Linked DNA regions of Homo sapiens: regions 1 and 2 are each linked to region 3. Evidence: promoter capture Hi-C in human tissues and cell types (Jung and others, 2019). All regions are on one chromosome and are shown on one strand. Each heading gives the region's core, a stretch centred on a gene start or on the middle of the fragment in contact. The rest is flanking DNA. Distances are from core to core; before and after follow the strand shown. Region 1 overlaps C19orf67 (chromosome 19 open reading frame 67). Region 2 has its middle 4.4 kb from the start of ZNF69. Region 3 holds the start of FARSA (phenylalanyl-tRNA synthetase subunit alpha).

Region 1 (3,622 bases), core at 826-3,325, 1.1 Mb after region 3:
TCTTGGGTCTCATCCCAGACTTAATGATCAAACTCTCCATGTGATTCTGATGCACACTAGGAAGTTTGAGAATCAAGGGTGTAGAAAGCTGCTCAGCAACAGGACCCAGGAAACAAAGCTTGTTTCCTTCCCCTTCCAGTACTGTACTGTCACCACCCACCCGAAACCCTGTCTTAAGAGACAGTGGATTTGACTTAAAGGAGACCGTCTAGAGCTGCTTGTGGCTAGTCTGAATTGAGATATGTTGTAAATGTGAAATGCTAGATTTCTTTTCCTTTTTTTTTTTTTTTTTTTTTTTGAGATGGAGTCTTGCTCTTGTTGCCCAGGCTGGAGTGCAATGGCACGATCTCGGCTCACTGCAACCTCCATCTCCTGGGCTCAAGCGGTTCTCCTGCCTCAGCCTCCAGAGTAGCTGAGATTACCAGCACCTGCCACCATGCCCGGCTAATTTTTGTAGTTTTAGTAGAGATGGGGTTTCGCCATGTTGGCCAGGCTGGTCTCAAACTCCTGACCTCATGATCTGCCTGCCTCGGCCTCCCAAAGTGCTGGGATTACAGGTGTGAGCCACTGCATCTGGCTTTTTTTTTTTTTTTTCAGATGGAGTCTCGCTCTGTTGCGCAGGCTGGAGTGTAGTGGTGCGATCTCGGCTCACTGCAACCTCCATCTCCCAGATTTAAGCGAGTCTCCTGGCTCAGCCTCTTGAATAGCTGGGATCACAGGCGCCCACCACCACACCCACCTTTTTTTTTTTTGTTTTTTTTTTTTGCATTTTTAGTAGAGACAGGATTTTGCCATGTTGGCCAGGCTGGTCTCGAACTCGTGACCTCAAGTGACCCACCTGTCTCGGCCTCCCAAAGTGCTGGGATTATGGGCATGAGCCACCATGTCCGGCCAAGATTTCTAAGACAGTACAAAAAAGGAAAATACCTCAATAATTTTTTTACATGGATTATACATTGAAATAATATTTTGGGTATAACAGGTTAAATAAAATATCACGAAAATGAATCTAACCTCTTAATTTTTTATTTTTTATTTTTTTTTGAGACGGAGTCTCGCTGTGTCACCCAGGCTGGAATGCAGTGGTGCGATCTCGGCTCACTGCAAGATCCACCTCCCGGGTTCACGCCATTCTCCTGCCTCAGCCTCCCGAATGGCTGGGACTACAGGCGCCTGCCACCACGCCCGGCTAATTTTTTGTATTTTTAGTAGAGACGGGGTTTCACCGTGTTAGCCAGGATGGTCTCAATCTCCTGACCTCGTGATCCGCCTGCCTCAGCTTCCCAAAGTGCTGGGATTATAGGCATGAGCCACGGCGCCTGGCCCTAACCTCTTAATTTTTTTATGTGGTTACTAGAAAATTTGAAACTACATACGTGATTTGCGTTTGCAGCTCACTTGATATTTCCATTGGACCCCACGAGTCTAAAGAATCTTAAAGGCCGGGCAGGGTGGCTCATGCCTGTAATCCCAGCACTTTGGGAGGCCGAAGCGGGAGGATAGCTTAAGCCAGGAGTTCGAGACCAGCCTGGTCAACATAGGAAGAACCCCCCCCTTCTCTACAATAATAATAATAATATAATAATAATAATAAAATAGGGGCATCGTCGCTGCCTGTACTCCCAGCTGCTTAGGAGGCCGAAGTGGGAGGATCACTTGAACCCAGGAGTTAGAGTTTGCAGAAGTTGGAGGTTCCAGGATTGCGCCATTGCACTCCAGCCTGGGTGACAGAGCAAGACCCTTCCCTCCCCCCGAAAAACATCTTAGAGCCACAGGAAAACTCACAGGGACTCCCTCAAAGCGGTATCAGGGAGCATCAGGATTTCCTTGATGTCATTCAGACCACAGCTGTGGACTAAAAAACATCCTTGATGCAGTCAGAAATTGTCACCAGAAATACCCATGGAAGAGCAATAGTGGCCGGGCGCGGTGGCTCACGCCTGTAATCCCAGCACTTTGGGAGGCAGAGGCGAGCGGATCACCTGAGGTCAGGAGTTGGAGACCAGCCTGGCCAACATGGCGAAACCCCGTCTCTACTAGAAATACAAAAACTAGCTGGGCCTGGTGGCATCAGCCTGTAATCCCAGCTACTCGTGGGGCTGAGGCAAGAAAATCACTTGAGCCTGGGAAGCGGAGGTTGCAGTGAGCCGAGATCATGCCATTGTACTCCAGCCTGGGCGACAAGAGCGAAACTAGTGTTGGCATTCAATATTGATTCATTTCACCTCTAACGTCCTTTTTTATCATCTGGAAATGGAGGCTAATACTATGTGCCAGGGACTGGAAGGTAGGTGCTTTGCTCAAAATCATAAATAAGGGCAGGGCTCTGGGTGTCTCCTCTATGAAAATGCTGCCGGGGGCGGGGGGAGGGGAGGGGAGGGGAGGAGAACCAAAAGGGTCCCTCTTGGATTAAAGGGGTATAACCCGCAGCTGAGTGACACCTGGCTCAGGAGGACACCCTTCCTCCTTGCAACGGGCCACAAGTACCGGGTTGCGATCACAAGTACCCGGTTCAGGTCCAAGGTCCGCCACTTGCTCGCAGGAGCTTTGAGCAGGTGAGTTCATTTCTCTCAGCCAGGGTCTCCTCTCCAGTCCGAGATTAGAGAGAGGCTGAGAGATCCTAAGCTTGGATACCGTAGGGCTCTCCCACCTTGTCCGCACCCCGGATACCCCAAGAAAGACGACGACCTGTCCGGCCCCCAAGTCCCAAAAGCTGGAAGAGAAAAAAAAAGTCTAACTCGGGCCCTTAGGAAACTGATCGAGGGCACTTTCCTGGGGCGCGTCGGGAAAAGTAGTCTTCTACGCTAAAATAAATAACTTCCGGGTCAAAATATGGGAGTGGGCGTAGCCTTAAGTCTCTTCCTCCAGTGGACGTTGAATTTCCCCGGTACCCTAAACTTGCAGTTTTCTGGGTTCCGGTGTTGACGGGCACCACTTCCCTTTTTGCTTCATGTGCGCCTATGCGCATGCGCCAAACTCTCGTCCGCCTATTGGCGAATTCCAGGCTTCTTTCAAAAGACTACATTTCCCAGAAGGCCACGCGAGTGGGTGGGGCAATCCCCCGGGGGAGGGGCGCGGCATTCGCAGCGGACGCTGAGCCTGTGACCTCTTTCTTTCTTTTATTTAACACAAAACTGACGTGTCCGCATTCAGGGCCCCACGGCCAAGCCGGACTCGGTGCAGACAGGTCAGCTCGGCCTGGCCCTTTGGAAGGCGAGGCCGGGCTGCACTGCGAGAACGAGTGAGCCCCTCCCCTGCCCCCTATTCTGGAGTTTGGAACTGTCAAGTTCCAGCTCCTACCCTCTTCCCCAGGTTCAAGACCCCTGCGCTGCCCACCCCGCAGGCCCGGCTGCGCTCGGAGGCCGGGCCTGGCCTGCCTGGCCCGTGAGGATCTGCACCAGCAGGTCGGTGGCCAGCGTGGGCGTGGGCTCCTCGAAGCCGATGGTCAGCAGCTGCTGGTAGTCCCCAAGCGGCTGCGGGCACAAAATCCTGGGGTGGGGGGGCCAGGGATAGACAGGCCTGGACTTGAGTGCCCCCTGCCCCTCGGGAGTCCCTCCCTTTGAGTGAGAGGCTCAGGTGAAAGAGGCTTTGTTTCAGCTGCGGGTGGGAAAAACCCCCGGGG
Region 2 (3,756 bases), core at 495-2,994, 1.1 Mb before region 3:
TCCTAATATGAGGGGTTGAGCCACAAGGAACCCCCCAAATAGGCAAGAGATCCTTAATTTGAGAGGCTGAGCCACAAGGAACCCCCAAAATAGGCAAGAGATCCTTAATATGAGGGGTTGAGCCACAGCAAGCCCCCCTAGGCAAGAGATTCCTATCACGAGGGATTGAGCCTAGCCAGGACCCAGTATAGGAAATATTACAAGCAAAAAAGACAAAGTTAGCAACAAAGATATCCCCCCTAATAGTCCCCTAGGTCTCATGTTAAAACATTAGAAAGATAATGAAAAGACTAAACATAAGAAAAAGCAATTAGTGATAAAATATTGCTGTTCCATTTAGACTCAAGAACGAATCCTTGAACCCTTAGTTTTCTGGCCAGAATTTAAGTCGAATGAGGGATGGATTTGTGAACTTCTAATAGAAAATGTTGCTAGTAGAAGACCTGCCTCCTGAGAAGAAACAAATTATGCCCTATGTTAGTTGCAAGGAGTTGTCCTTTCCCCTCCTCCAAGGATTGAAAGGAGCAAGTCAAAAACTAATATTTGGAGGAAAATGAGTTGTACATGTGCCCTATTAAGATAGAACCATCTTTAATGAAAAAGACAGTGAAGGAAGGGGCTTGGGGGATCCTAGCAAAAAGAACAACTCGCAAGATCCCCTAGACCATTCCCCACCTAATACCCAACCCTTCCCCTCAGGCATCGCCCAGTAAGTCTGTTCTTCCCCAGCCTAAGTCCCTCTCCCCTAAAGAACTCCAAGCTCCTAATTCACCAGATGGCTTTTGCCAGGCTAGCAACATGAAGGATCTGCCGCAACATGTTGTCAGCGTTGTCTGGCCCATAGTGCACCCCTGCAGCGGCAAAGCCCATGCTCCTGCCCACTGGCTGGTCCAAGGTCCTGGCACTGTATTGACGGCAGCTCTGCATGACATGCGAGCCAGGCCCCAGCCTATGCCCCATGCAAACTACATTATAGGATATCTGCCTTACTTTGCTGAGGCTAAGTAATACGGGGCTTCAGCGATGGCTCCAAGCAGCCTGGCATCCCCGCAGCTAAGTTTCCTGAGCAAGAAGTAGATAATCTTTCAGCGGATATATCCACTAGCATTTATTATAGTCAGGCCAGTGTTAAAAGTGAAAATATCCACCAGAAAAGAACTCTGATTCTTTAAAGTCACCTATGTTAAAATGTACCACCAAAAAAGAATTACATGTGTATAAATATGAGGCTATTCTGTTAAAAATGATAGTTTAATGTTACTAGTAATTTGCTTAACCTAACAAGTTTCTTAACGAAAGATCCAAATCTAAAAAGGAAGCACACATGTTTAGATTTAACTGATTACCATACAAATGTCCGGCCAAACTTAAGAGAAACCCCCTTCAAAAATGATTAAAGGAAAAAGGATTCAACAGATGTTCAATAATAAATAGAGAAGTTCCTAGAGAAATAAAATTTAAAAATTGTTTAATAGTTTACCCAAATTTGTAAGCTGTTTGCACTTAGTCAAGCTTTAAAGTAACTGCAAAGGAACCATCTATACTAATCTATATTGATTCTAAATACACCTTTATCGTGGCTCATACATTTAGAAAATTTCAGACAATAATAAAGGTCAAAGCCTTGTTCATGAAGAGTTAATAACCCAAGTGTTAAATAACCTTCAGTTACCAGAAAAAAAAAAAAAGCTATTTTCCACGTCCCCAGGCACCAAAAATCCTATCTTTCAAGAGTTAAGAAAATAACCTAGCAAATCAGATAATCCGAACCAGCTGCCGTTTCTCCTGTAGGCACTGAAGGGAATTCAAATGTTATTTAAACCTCTTATGAAAGAAGTCCTATCCCACCTAAATTAGAGGACCCATTAAAGACCTCAAGCTATGTATAGCACAGTTAAAGTTTATATGTGTATGAAAATGTACATCCTTAGCCAAACAAGTCTAGAAACTTAGTTGCCATAACTCAAATGTCTTCTGTCTTCCTATTAATCCAAACTACCTCTCAAAGCAATCCACTGCCAACATTCCTACATACTTGGTTTATCTTCCACTTTCTCTTCCCTCAAAACTCACAATTTTCCAGTACAGGTGCGGCTCCTGGAGTTCCCAGTGCGTCAACACCGGCCTGAGGAGCTGGCCTAGTACTTCCCACCATTGAAACTGCAGTCTGGACAGCAGAGAAAGGATAGACCCATCACACCCGAGTCAAGAAAGCACCGCCACCCCCAAAGTCGTAGGCCATTATTCCAGGGGAAAACCCCCTCAAACTAAAGCTAAGAAAAATTTAACCTCTTACATCTATTCTATTACTCTTTCTTCTTTTCCCCTTCCAATGCTGACCACCTTGTCATTAATGTAACTCAATCAAACTCACCCCAAGTTATCACGTTTAATGCTATGTCTAGTCATACCCTGTAAAGATCTCCAAAGTCAAAGACAAGTCTCAGCCTCAGAAAAGTATCTCTGCCCCTTTAAGGTGAAAGGCCCCCCCTACCAAGACTCTTGTTCCTTAACAAATATAAGAAAACAAGTCTGTCATAGCTAGAATGATGTCCTATGGACAACCAAATGTCAAGGCTAGACCTCATCAGCAGGTGGCTGTATATCCTTAAAACCATACATTCATTTCACTAAAAAAAGCACCTCCCCAATTGCCAGTATAATCAATGTAATCCCATACAAATTTCCACCTCTACTGACCCTAAACCTACTTTAAGTCACTTCTATGGAACAGGAGCCAACTTGGCCAGCACAGACCTCATAAGATCTTTCGAAATGCGTTTTATTAATCCTTCATTCTCTTCACCCCCTTCCTTCTCTTCTCCTTCTAAGCTTTCTTCTAATCAGACTGCCACCTGTTTTCTACCTAATGATACTACTAAAGTAAATATTGTAGAAGTAAAAGATTTAAGACAAACCCTAGCAATTAAAACAGGATATCAAGATGTAAATACCTGGTTGGAATGGATTCAATATTCCGTCCGCACATTGAACAAAAGCAATTGTTACGCTTGTATGCATGGCAGACTAGAGGCCCAGACTGTTTCCTTTCCACTAGGATAGCCCTTCAGCCGACCAGGCATAGGCTGTATGGTAGCTCTTTTCCAAAATTCCACAGCCTGGGGCAACAAATCATGCCAAGCTCTCTCTCTGCTATATCCCGAAGTCCAACAACCTGCAGGCCAGCCCCCAAAGGCCATTCAGCTTCCTTCTCCTGACGTCAATTTCACCTCATGTCTCTCACGACGAGGGGAGAATCTGGCGTTCCTTAGAAGCTTAACAAGATGCAATAAGCTTAAGCCCTTCCAAAAACTTACCCATCAGTCTGCCCTTAGTCATCCTCAAGCAGATGTATGGTGGTATTGTAGTGGACCTTTACTGGATACTCTGCCAAGTAACTGGAGCGGCACTTGCGCTCTTGTCCAATTGGCGATCCCTTTCACACTGGCATTTCATCAACCAAAAAAAAAGAAAAGCCACAACACCAAAAAATAAGAGAAGCCCCTTATAAGTCTTTTGACTCTCAAGTTTACATAAAGGCCATTAGAGTCCCATGGGGAGTGCCTAACAAGTTCAAAACCTGAGACCAAATAACTGCAAGATTTAAACCCATATTTCCCCGAATAACTATTAATAAAAATGTAGCTTCGATAAATTACATCTATTATAATTAGCAGCAGTTTATGAATTACACCAAGGATCTTATCAAAAAACAGCTGACCAGTTAAGGCCTACTAGCCAAATAGCTTAAGAAAA
Region 3 (3,995 bases), core at 184-2,683:
GCCTTGGTCTCCCAAAGTGCTGGGATTACAGGTGTGACCACTGCACCCGGCATAAATTCTAATTACTATAATTATTTTTATGGCTATTACTGTCATTAGATTGAACCTCACCTCCTTATATTATTTAACCCTCTGTGACGTATACAAATGTCAGATCATATTGGTCAAGGCACTGTCACCCCACACAACACAGCTGCCATCTCTCCTCTGCATTGAGGACTATGGGCTCTGCAGCCTGAGTGCCTAATTTCAAATCTGGGCTCATCGGCCTCTTCTATTCACACTGATTATGTTACTGACCATCAGTTGTCACATCTGCAAAATGGGAATAACATGGCCATCAGCCAGGATTATGGAATGGATTGGACAAACAAGCTGAGACCAAAGTGGGGCACAGAACATGAGCTCTACGGATAAACAGCCCAGATCCTGGCCCCATGGATCTAGCCTTCTGGGTGGCCCACGGGCCCCTCAGCATCCTACGCCTGTGACTCTGTCACTGTCCACTTGCCCAAGTCAGAAGGCTGGACTTCATCTGTGCGCCCCCTGCCTTGTCCTGAATCCCACGCCTTCCCCACCTCCCCCAAGCTTCCTTCCCATAGCCAGACATCATGCCCTCCAGCTTGGGGAAGTGCCAGCTTCTTCTTTCATCCCTTCACCTCCAGTCCTGTCCATGCCAATTCTTCCCAAAGGTGATGTGGATAGCACACTCATCTGACCGGCTCTAGCTCCTGCTATCGCTTCCCAGTTCCCTCATGAGGTAAAGACCTAAGAGGCTTTGCAATTACAGCTATGCTGGTCTCCCTTGCCGCCTGCCATCCCCCAAGATCCCGGCCACTGATCTCTAAAGTGCTATCACTTTCCTCAACAGAGAACAGACTCAGCCGTCACCTGCACCAGGCCGCTCTCCCTGACCCCCAAGGCTGGGTCAGCTGTCACAGCTGGGTCCCCTGTTTTCCCCCATCACTCTGGTTCTTGAAGCACCTTCCTATTACGTCGCAACCTGCGTGAGGGCAGCAACCGCGACTTCCTCGTCCATCATCGTACCCTCTACCCACGCTGACCGTGCCTCAATAAACGTTTATTGCATGAGGAACATCCGTGCGTCTGGGCCCTCACTCGTCCCACTTCCCGCCCGCACATCCCGGAGTGGACACATATACAGCTACCCCAAACTAGGCCTGAGGGAATTTGGCTTGGACGTAGAGCGCCCGTGGCAAGGGGACTGTAGGTGCAAGGGCAAGGCGGTCCGGCATCACGGGCCCGGCTCACCTCGCCCAGCGCCTGAAGGCTCTTCACGGCGCCCACCACCGCCTGGTGCTCCATGCCCAGCTCAGCCGCCAACTCGGCGCTGTCCAGGCCGCCATCAGACGCCTCCAGCCGCCGGAGCAGCAGTTCCGCCACCTGACCATCCGCCATGACTCCTTCCAGTGTGCTCAGCGTGTCCGGGCCCGGGTGGGCGGGGGGAGCTGAGCCACCGGAACCGGAACCGGAGTGTGTACCGCCATCTTGAATGTGTCTAACTGTAGAACAGGGCTCAATGTGTCGTCATCTTGAGTGTGGCGACGGAGCCGCAAAAGGTGCATGGGACTCAGTTCCCACCTCCACCCTGGCTCCATCAATGGCGTCTGGTTGACCAGAGGGGTAAAATTGATTATCTCAAGGTCAGAAGCACCGCCCTGTTTTGAGTTTTATCTAGCCTCACTTCGAGCGGGCTGTGTGACCTTGGACTTCCCCGTCTCTGGGTTACAGAACCCTCTGCCCTTCTGGTATTCTCTCTTGCCCTAGGAGAGGCGGTGGGTGGTGGGCTCCAGAGATGGTCATTTTGGCGATGTCAGCTACTTTTAAAATTTCAAAGGAAGGCTGGGTAGGTACCGTCCCTTTTTATAGAGGGAAAAGGAATTCACCTAGTAAGTCAAGGTGGCACCTAACCTGTGTGGACTACCTCGTATGTGGTAGTACTTAGCCCAGAACTGAGTACTTCACGTGTAGTATTTCATTTATCCCCAAAACTTTATGATGTAGATACTGATATAACCGCATTACACATGTGAGAAAACTGAGGCTCAGAGGGTGGTATGACTTGCCCAAGGTTCTACAGAGAGTTGGTGGAAATGAAGTCATAAATTATAAACCTTCCAGATCCTCCCACCCCTGTGCGCTGAGAGTAACGTCAGTGCAAATACTGCATGGCCTAGATTAGCACTGTCCTATAGAAACACAGTGCAAAACATCTTTCTTTTTTGAGACAGGGTCTTGCTCTGTCACCCATGCTGGAGTGCAGTGGTGCAATTATGGCTTACTGCAGCCTTGACTTCCCAGGCTCTAAGGATCCTCCAACCTTAGGCTCCTGAGTAGCTGGAACTGCAGGTGCGCGCCACCACACCCAGCTTTTTTTTTTTTTTTAAGTATGGGTTTTGGCCATGTTGCCCAGGCTGGTCTCAAACTCCTAGGCTCAGGTTATCCTCCTGCATCGGTCTCCCAAAATGCTGGCATTAGAGGCATGACCCACCTCGCCCAGCCAGCCAGACCCTGACTCTTACAAAAAAAAAGATGACTAATAAAATATTTTGCACTCGGCCGGGCACAGTGGCTCACCTCTGTAATCCCAGCACTTTGGGAGGCCGAGGCGGGTGGATCACCTGAGGTCGGGAGTTTGAGACCAGCCTGACCAACATGGAGAAACCCCGTCTCTACTAAAAATACAAAATTAGCAGGGCGTGGTGGCGCATGCCTGTAATCTCAGCTACTTGGGAGGCTGAGGCAGGAGAGTCGCTTGAACCTGGGAGGCAGAGGTTGTGGTGAGCCGAGATCGTGTCATTGCACTCCAGCCTGGGTGACAAGGCGAAACTCCGTCTCAAAAAAAAAAAAATTGCACTTTTTTTCATACTAAATCTTCAAAATCTGATGCGTATTTTACACTTACAACACATCTCAGTTCGGACCAACCACATTTCAAATGGTCAGTAATCACATGTGGGCAGTGGTGACTTACGTCAGCACAGGTAGATTAGAATCCTAGATCTGCTGGCCAGGCTCAGTAATCCCAGCACTTTGGGAGGCTGAGGCGGGTGAATCACCTGAGGTCAGGAGTTCAAGACCAGCTTGGCCAAGATGGCGAAACCCCATCTCCTCTAAAAACACAAAAATTAGCTGGGTGCAGTGGGGGTGCCTGTAATCCCAGCTACACGGGAAGCTGAGGCAGGAGAATCACTTGAGCCTGGTAGGTGGAGCTTGCAGTGAGCAGAGATCGCACCACTGCACTCCAGCCTCGGTGACAGAGCAAGGCTCTGTCTCAAAAAAAAAAAAAAAAAAAAAAAAGAATCCTAGATCTGTTATTTATGTCATTCAACCAGAAGGTGTAGTCTTTCTGTGCCTCAGTTTCTTGCTCACATGGAGGTGATTGGAGCCCAGGTTACTGTGAGAATTAAATGCCCACACATATTCACACTGCTTACTAAATTGAGTGTGGCCCATGTTCGAACACTCTTATAAGCAGAACACATTTATTCCTTTTACATCACAATTATTATTTGAGTCTGTAAAATGGGATTACTCATATCCCCAAATCCTGACCCTATATGAGGTTCTGTATTAAGGATACATTTCTCAAAGTCCCTTCTCTCCTCCCATTTTATGTTGATTATTTATTTATTTATTTAGGGAGTGGGTCTCACTCTATTGCCCAGGCTGGAGTGCAGTGGCATGATCTTGGCTGACTGCAGCCTCCACCTCCTGGGCTCAAGCAATCCTCTCACCTCAGCCTCCCGAGTAGTTGGGACTACAGGTGTGTACCAGCAGGCCAGGCTAATTTGTGTTATGTATATTATATATTATATGCTATATATAATATACATACTATTCATATATTTATGCATTATATGTCATATATAATATATTACATATGTGTACATATATATATTTTGTAAGAATGAGGTTCCACCATGTTGCCCAGGCTGGTTTTGAACTGCCGGGCTCAAACAATCTGCCTGCCT

The links. The method cuts DNA at HindIII sites, captures the fragments that hold promoters and counts their contacts. A contact is called where the count stands out against the background at its distance.
Region 1: a fragment that was not itself captured here is called in contact with the fragment with the promoter of FARSA in region 3 in 1 of the 25 tissues and cell types used here (lymphoblastoid cells).
Region 2: a fragment that was not itself captured here is called in contact with the fragment with the promoter of FARSA in region 3 in 1 of the 25 tissues and cell types used here (dorsolateral prefrontal cortex).

What each region holds. Positions count from the first base shown.
Region 1 is chr19:14,078,520-14,082,141 of GRCh38, forward strand. C19orf67 (chromosome 19 open reading frame 67) reads right to left here. Exons shown (of 6, transcript NM_001277378.2): 6 at 3,105-3,489. The coding sequence ends at 3,315. Among named protein-coding and RNA genes, the nearest start is that of C19orf67, 5.5 kb to the right of the region's middle. RefSeq lists enhancers at 2,942-3,231, 3,492-3,551. The HindIII fragment of the contact is 5,618 bases long and covers 1-3,622 here.
Region 2 is chr19:11,881,463-11,885,218 of GRCh38, forward strand. No RefSeq gene overlaps it. Among named protein-coding and RNA genes, the nearest start is that of ZNF69, 4.4 kb to the right of the region's middle. RefSeq lists an enhancer at 1-38. The HindIII fragment of the contact is 6,745 bases long and covers 1-3,756 here.
Region 3 is chr19:12,932,278-12,936,272 of GRCh38, forward strand. It overlaps FARSA (phenylalanyl-tRNA synthetase subunit alpha), which reads right to left and starts at 1,434. Exons shown (of 13, transcript NM_004461.3): 1 at 1,273-1,434. The coding sequence starts at 1,419. It overlaps FARSA-AS1 (FARSA antisense RNA 1), which reads left to right. Exons shown (of 3, transcript NR_149078.1): 2 at 693-760; 3 at 872-1,019. RefSeq lists enhancers at 1,037-1,106, 1,117-1,616, 1,338-1,632 and a silencer at 2,669-2,774. The HindIII fragment of the contact is 13,322 bases long and covers 1-3,995 here.